Linked DNA regions of Homo sapiens: region 1 is linked to region 2. Evidence: promoter capture Hi-C in 16 types of primary human blood cells and fetal thymus (Javierre and others, 2016). All regions are on one chromosome and are shown on one strand. The core of a region is centred on a gene start or on the middle of the fragment in contact, and the rest is flanking DNA. Distances in the headings are between cores, read along the strand shown.

Region 1 (3,113 bases), core at 566-3,065, 640 kb before region 2:
CCTATTATTTTACTTCCTTCTTTACCTGAATCATTAATGGCAAGGAGCACCGACACAGAACTGAGTTCAGGGCTGTTCTAATTAACTCCCGGGGATGTTATGAGCAATCCATCAGTCCTGGGGTTGCATTACAGCCTCCGTATTTACTGGTGTTTTTTCAGTGAGCTTTCCCTGTGTGTGAAAAATCCAGCAGCTTTTTGGCCCCATTGGTTTACGTCTGTTTTATGAATGGCCTGAAACGTCTTGCCCCAGTGTCTGAGAGTGTGATGAGGAAAAGGATTTTGTGCTTTGCTTTGTTTTTCAATTATCCATGGGCTGTGAGTTCCTTGCATTATAATAGCAGGAGCACAAACCTATGATCAGACTCCACCAACTTCAGTGTTGGCTCAGGGTATGACCTTGGGCAGGTTTGTCTCCTCAGCTGGCCCACGGGCGACAGGTGTAGGGAGGTCTGCCTCCCACAAGTGATGCCACAAGGCCAAGTGGTATGTAGACTTGGCTGTGTGGTAGAATCACTTGGAGAGCTTTAAGGCGCCCGGTGCCCAGGTCACACCCCACACCAATTAAATCAGACTGTCTGGGGGCAGGAGCCAGCATCTGTTTTCAGTGATCCCAGGTGATCCTACATGCAGTAGAGTTTGGGAGCCACCGCTCTAGGGATTAACCGAGGCCTCTGCAGCACGCACTAGCATGGTGGCAAACAATGAGTTCTCAGTGCCCACCCCTCAACAGAAAAGCCAGAAGATGGAGACACAGAAGTCAGATCCTGCTCAGCCCCATCTCCAAGGAACGGCCATGTGAGCCTGTGTACTGAGAATGCGTGCCTGTGCACGCCGAGGATGCAGAAAGGGACAGGGGACCAAGTGGCAGGTAGCCTTTTCTTCTAAACTGCTACCAGGTATTTGCATCCCAGCCTGTTTAGTGTTGCTGCTGAGTCCCCTCCACCTTCAAGAACTGTCAGCCTCTTCAGTAAGGAGACGTGGGGTCCCAGCTGTGGCTTCCTAAGAGCTGAGCGTGAGGGCGTTAGTGTGGCCATCCATAATGGTATTTGGGATCTGACAAGTCTCCAAACCACTTGTCCATAGACCCTCCAGGGCCCTGCACCCTGAGAACCAGCCTGGTGGGGCTGGAGTCCTAAAATCTGCACTTTGTCCCAGTACCGGGTGCCCCAGGCTGCCAATGGGCCTCCCTTCGAGGAACCCTGGATCTCTCCCAAGACGCTGTGTGTGAGCTTCAGCCTTTCCAGTTGCCTGCACATTCTCGCCCAAGTGCTGTGTGTGGGAGTAACTTTTCAACTCCTTCGTTCAAGAGCCTTTCCCACCCCTCCACTGGGCCCAGTCCTATGTGGGGGCCAGGACAGAGAGATGCCCAGGCAGTGAGCAGGTCAGACCCTGCTCATCCTCAGAGGCCAGGGTGGAGGGAGGCAGGTGACCCATGAGGAATCCCTTCCAGCAGTGAGACCTGTGGCACCCCATGCCCATTGATCATACCTACTTGCTCTGTGACACGGAGAGACAGCTGTGTGGGAATGGGCTTTCTGTGTGCTCTGCAGAGAGCGTGGCGGCTAAGGTGAGGCATGGGAGTCATAACCCCCAGGCTGAGTGAGCCAAGAGTGCATGTGGCCAGAGCGCCCCATTCCTTCCAGGTCAGGGAGCTCCAAGGCCCTGGGCCAGGCTGCTTCATGCCACCCGGGTTTGCCAGGACAGGTCATTCTCATGCACGGCTCATCGGCAGACGTGGAGCAGAGCTGTTTCCCACGGTCCCACACAGTGGACAGGGTCTCGTTTTCTTCCCTCTAACCCTTCGCTGTCCAACACGGTAGCCACTTGTGGCTGTCTAAATCTACATTAATGAAAATTAAGGTTAAATAAAATTAAACATTTCTGTTCCACTGTCACACCACATTTCAAGTGCTCAGTCGTGGATAGCAAGACAACGGAAAAAGGATATTTAATTGTATTTAATTTTAATTGAAATGCAAATAGCCACATGTGTGGTGGCTCTGTACTAGACAGCATGGTCGTAGGACATTTCCATCAATGCAGAAAGTCCTTTTGGGCAGCAGCGCTGTCTAGCAGGTGGGGTAAAATCAGGAAACAAGAAAGGCAAGGGTTTGGAGTCTTTCAGGATCCCAGCTCCGTCACTTTCTAGTGTGTGGCTGCATGCTGTCAACTCTGCTGGGGCCCAGGCGTCCTCGTCTGGAACTGAAAGCCCAGATTTGTGTGGCTACCTCCTCACCCAGGTGCGAGGACGGGGCAAAGTGAGGATGGTAACAGTAACAGAGGTGTGGACTGGGCACTTGCTCTCTGCTTTCATTCTTCCCTGCCTGGGACCCACGTGCTGTTTTCACCCCTGTTTACAGATGGGAAAGTAGAGGCCCAGAGCCTGTGCTGTGTTTAAGTGTCCAGCATGTGGCAGGAAGCAGAGACAGTGGGGATTGTGATTCTTACCTATCTAGCCAGAGTTGCACCTGGGGTTTGGAGGCACGGCTGACTGGGTACACAGGCTCTACACCCCTGCCAACTGTCTGACCACGGTGGCTCTGCCTATGACACACTTATTTACTATTGGACAGCCTGACTAGCTCTTTTCTTAACTTTTGCCTAAAAAAAATTCAATCCATGGCTTCCTAGCTCTGAACTTGCCTCTGTGCATCAAGCTGAAGAAGGTGCAGGAGTTTCAGAGCCAGTCATTCCTTAACAGGGAGGTAAGACTGCGGGGGACTCAGCAATTTGGAGCCTGGGCTTTCTCACCACCTATCATGCCCTCCTACGGTCCTGCCAAAATCTCCTGTCTCTCTTTCACCTTTCCCTTTCTCCGCCTGCTGGTGGATTTCCTCTGCCAAGAAATTAGCAAGAGCAGCTGAAGGCGGTGATGCACACGGCCCGGCCAAAGTGAAGTCACCCCTGCTCCTGCTGTGAAAGCTGCTGATCTCTTTCTTAGCACAGGCAGCCAAATGTGGTTTACCCTTCTGGTCCAGATTTCACTAACTTAGTGTGGCCCAGAGAATCTTTTTACAAGATTGGGGTTTGGTTTCAAGCACATGGAGGGACTTGGACCTGACTCACTTGGGCATTTCCTGCTTGGGGTCCTGGGAATTGACCTCCCGGAAG
Region 2 (2,977 bases), core at 225-2,724:
AAAAGACACACATGAACTTTCATGTTCCTACCCCCTACACCCCAGCCTACTGTCAGGCCTTTTTATCAATTCCAGGGAAACACCAAGCTTGCCCAGCCTCAGAAACTCTGCATTTGCTGTTCGCTCTACCGTGGACACGCTCCCCCGGGATCTTCCCAGCGCTGGTCCCTTCTCCTTTTTGTATAAGCTTCAAATGTCACTTCCTTAGGAAGTCTTTCCCCACCGCCATCGTTTCTATGCCCTGCATAGCACTGAAGCTTTAAAAAATTATATTTACTTGTTCACTGTCCCATCCACTCAAGGGAGCAAAAAGTTCACCCGGACGAGCGTCCGGCACATAGTAGGTGCAGATAAATAATCGTTAGATCAGGCCGGGTGCGGGGCTCTCGCCTGTAATCCCAGCACTTTGGGAGGCCGAGACGGGTGGATCACGTGAGGTCAGGAGTTCGAGACCAGCCTGGCCAACGTGGTGAAACTCTGTCTCTACTAAAAATACAAAAATTAGCCAGGCGTGGTGGCGCGCGCCTGTAATCCGAGCTACTCAGGAGCTGAGGCAGAAGAACCCCTTGAACCCGGGAGGCGGAGGTTTCAGTGAGCCGAGATCGCGCCACTGCACTCCTGCCTGGGACACAATGCGTGACTCCGTCTCAAAATAAAAATAATCGTTAGATCAATGAGTGCGGGAATTCTAAAAGGGGTCTGGAACTCTCGCAAGGTTGTGGATCACTACACCTGAAGCTTAAGGGGAATGAAATCGGTGAGAAATGAGGGTCCTACAGCCCGGGCCGAAGTGACAGGTCCACCCCTAGTGACTCCAACAGGTGAGGAGCACCCCCGACCCGCCTCCCTCGGCACTAAAGCGGGACGATAGGGCGCAGGGCTCCACCCGGAAGCCTCGCCATAATGTCCGCGGGCGGGCCGGGGCGAGGAGAAGGTGGGAAGCCGTGGCCGCAGGTTCCGGGAGGGGTCAGCCGTCCTGGGCAAGGTCAGGCCCGACTTCCCCGGCTGAGGCCGCTGCGACCCGGCCCTGCAGGCTCCAGGCGGCAGAGCAAGGGGAGCGCCCTAGCGGGGCCCCAGGGTCCGGGCCGCCTCACCTGCAGGTGAACTTGAGGGCGAGGAGCAGCGCGCAGCCGAGCGCCACGGCCCCGCAGAGCAGCTCCGGCCGCTGGCGCGCCATGAGGAAGGCGCCACGCAGCCCGCGACGGAGCCGGCCCGCCGAGGACGCTGTGGCCAGGGTCGGGCTCGAGCTGAGGCAGTCTGAGCCCGCGGGGCCGCCGCCGCCCCCTCCCTCGTCCTCGGCGTCCTCGCTGCTGCTGCTGCCGCCGCCGCGGCCTCCGCATTCCGACATTACATGCTCCCAGTCGCCGGCTTTATACCGCCGCCGCCGCCTCGGGCCCGAAGGCCCGGCCCGGCCCGTTGCTCCCCAATCCCGCAGCTCGCCGCACCCGCTAACCCGGACGCTCCACGTCAGCCGCGCCGCCGCCGCGGGGTCCGCCCCACCTCACACCCCAGAGCACGCAGCTCCGCCCACCGCTCACGGAGTCCGGGCGGGCACCGACACCGCCCAAATCCCCGCCCCCAACGGGCCACGCCCTGCACCCTACGTAAATGCACGGAAGCCTTCCCCGCCCGCAGCCCAGTCTTGGCCCCACCGGTCACGACCCCGCTCACGGAGTCTGCGCAGGCGCCGTCGCGGGGCGTGGAGAAGCTGCTCCCTTGGGATAAGGCCCGCGGGGAATACTTGGAACCTTGACACCGCTGTAGTCTGCTCTCGCCGCGCTGGGTTTTAGGAGCCGTAACGACAATAATCGTGTCCACCATTCTCACTACAGGCCCCGAAGCACGTAGGTGCCGTTTTTTATCCCAACTTAACTGAAGAAAAAAAAAACACGGCCGGGCGCGGTGGCTCAAGCCTGTAATCCCAGCACGTTGGGAGGCCAAGGCGGGCAGATTACATGAGACCAGGCGTTCAAGACCAGCCTGGCCAACATGGTGAAACCTCGTCTCTACTAAAAATACAAATATATTAGCCGGGCGTGGTGGCGGGCGCCTGTAATCCTAGCTGCTTGGGAGGCTGAGGCAGAGAATTGCTTGAACCCTGGAGGCGGAGGTTGCAGTGAGTGGAGATGGCGCCACTGCACTCCCGTCTGGGGGAGAGAGAGAGAGAGACTCTTGTCTCAAAAAAAAAAAAAGGACTTGTCCTCCAATGTCAATAACAACAAACTAGACAAATAAAACTTCGAGGGCATTAAGGCAATATGGTGTTATGCCACAAACAGAAGGCACAGCTAACGGCCAGTAGCTGAGACGCCACCTCTGCCACAGGTCAGCTATGTGACCCACGTGCAAATCTCATCACTTCCTGTCTGGTTCTGCTTCTGTGGATGTAGAATGGGGCAATCAATGGCTGTCTTGCTCAATTGGCCAGACATTTAATGTGTCAACCACCCAGGCCCAACATGTTGTGAGTTCATGTACACCGACCATTTTGCTATTTCTTTTCTATATGTCACTTTTTTTTTTTTTTTGGTTGTTTTTTGATACAGGGTCTTGTGTCACCCAGGCTGGAGTGCAATGGCGCAATCATAGCACACTGAAGCCTTGACAACCCCAGCTCAAGCGATCCACCCCCGTCAGCCTCCCAAGTAGTAGGCAACACAGATGTGTGCGACTACGCCCAGCTAATTTTTTTTTTTTGTGGAGACAAGGTCTCTCCATGTTGCCTAGGCTGGTCTTGAACTCCTGGGCTCAAGCGATCTTCCCCCTTCGACCTCCCAAAGCGTTAGGATTATGTAAAAGCATGAGTCACTGCGCCCACCTGTCACATCTTTTTGTTTCTTCTATACTGCCTTATTTTGTAGAAAGTAGCTATTTTCTCGTATAACATTAATTCCTTTATTTTTAACTTGTCCCTCATCTCTGTTTTGTGTTATTATTACCCTTATTATCTATGTTACAAACCCAACCATACAGTGTT

Evidence for each region. The method cuts DNA at HindIII sites, captures the fragments that hold promoters and counts their contacts. A CHiCAGO score of 5 or more calls a contact.
Region 1: a contact is called between a fragment that was not itself captured here and the fragment with the promoter of TXNDC11 in region 2, in 1 of 17 cell types (fetal thymus). The highest score is 5.1, in fetal thymus.

What each region holds. Positions count from the first base shown.
Region 1 is chr16:11,097,500-11,100,612 of GRCh38, forward strand. The region is part of intron 19 of CLEC16A (C-type lectin domain containing 16A); the gene reads left to right. Among named protein-coding and RNA genes, the nearest start is that of CLEC16A, 150 kb to the left of the region's middle. RefSeq lists an enhancer at 3,051-3,113. The HindIII fragment of the contact is 3,688 bases long and covers 1-3,113 here.
Region 2 is chr16:11,741,383-11,744,359 of GRCh38, forward strand. TXNDC11 (thioredoxin domain containing 11) reads right to left here and starts at 1,475. Exons shown (of 12, transcript NM_015914.7): 1 at 1,095-1,475. The coding sequence starts at 1,348. It overlaps TXNDC11-AS1 (TXNDC11 antisense RNA 1), which reads left to right and starts at 1,632. Exons shown (of 1, transcript NR_186412.1): 1 at 1,632-2,977. RefSeq lists silencers at 923-1,592, 1,455-1,977. The HindIII fragment of the contact is 4,507 bases long and covers 737-2,977 here.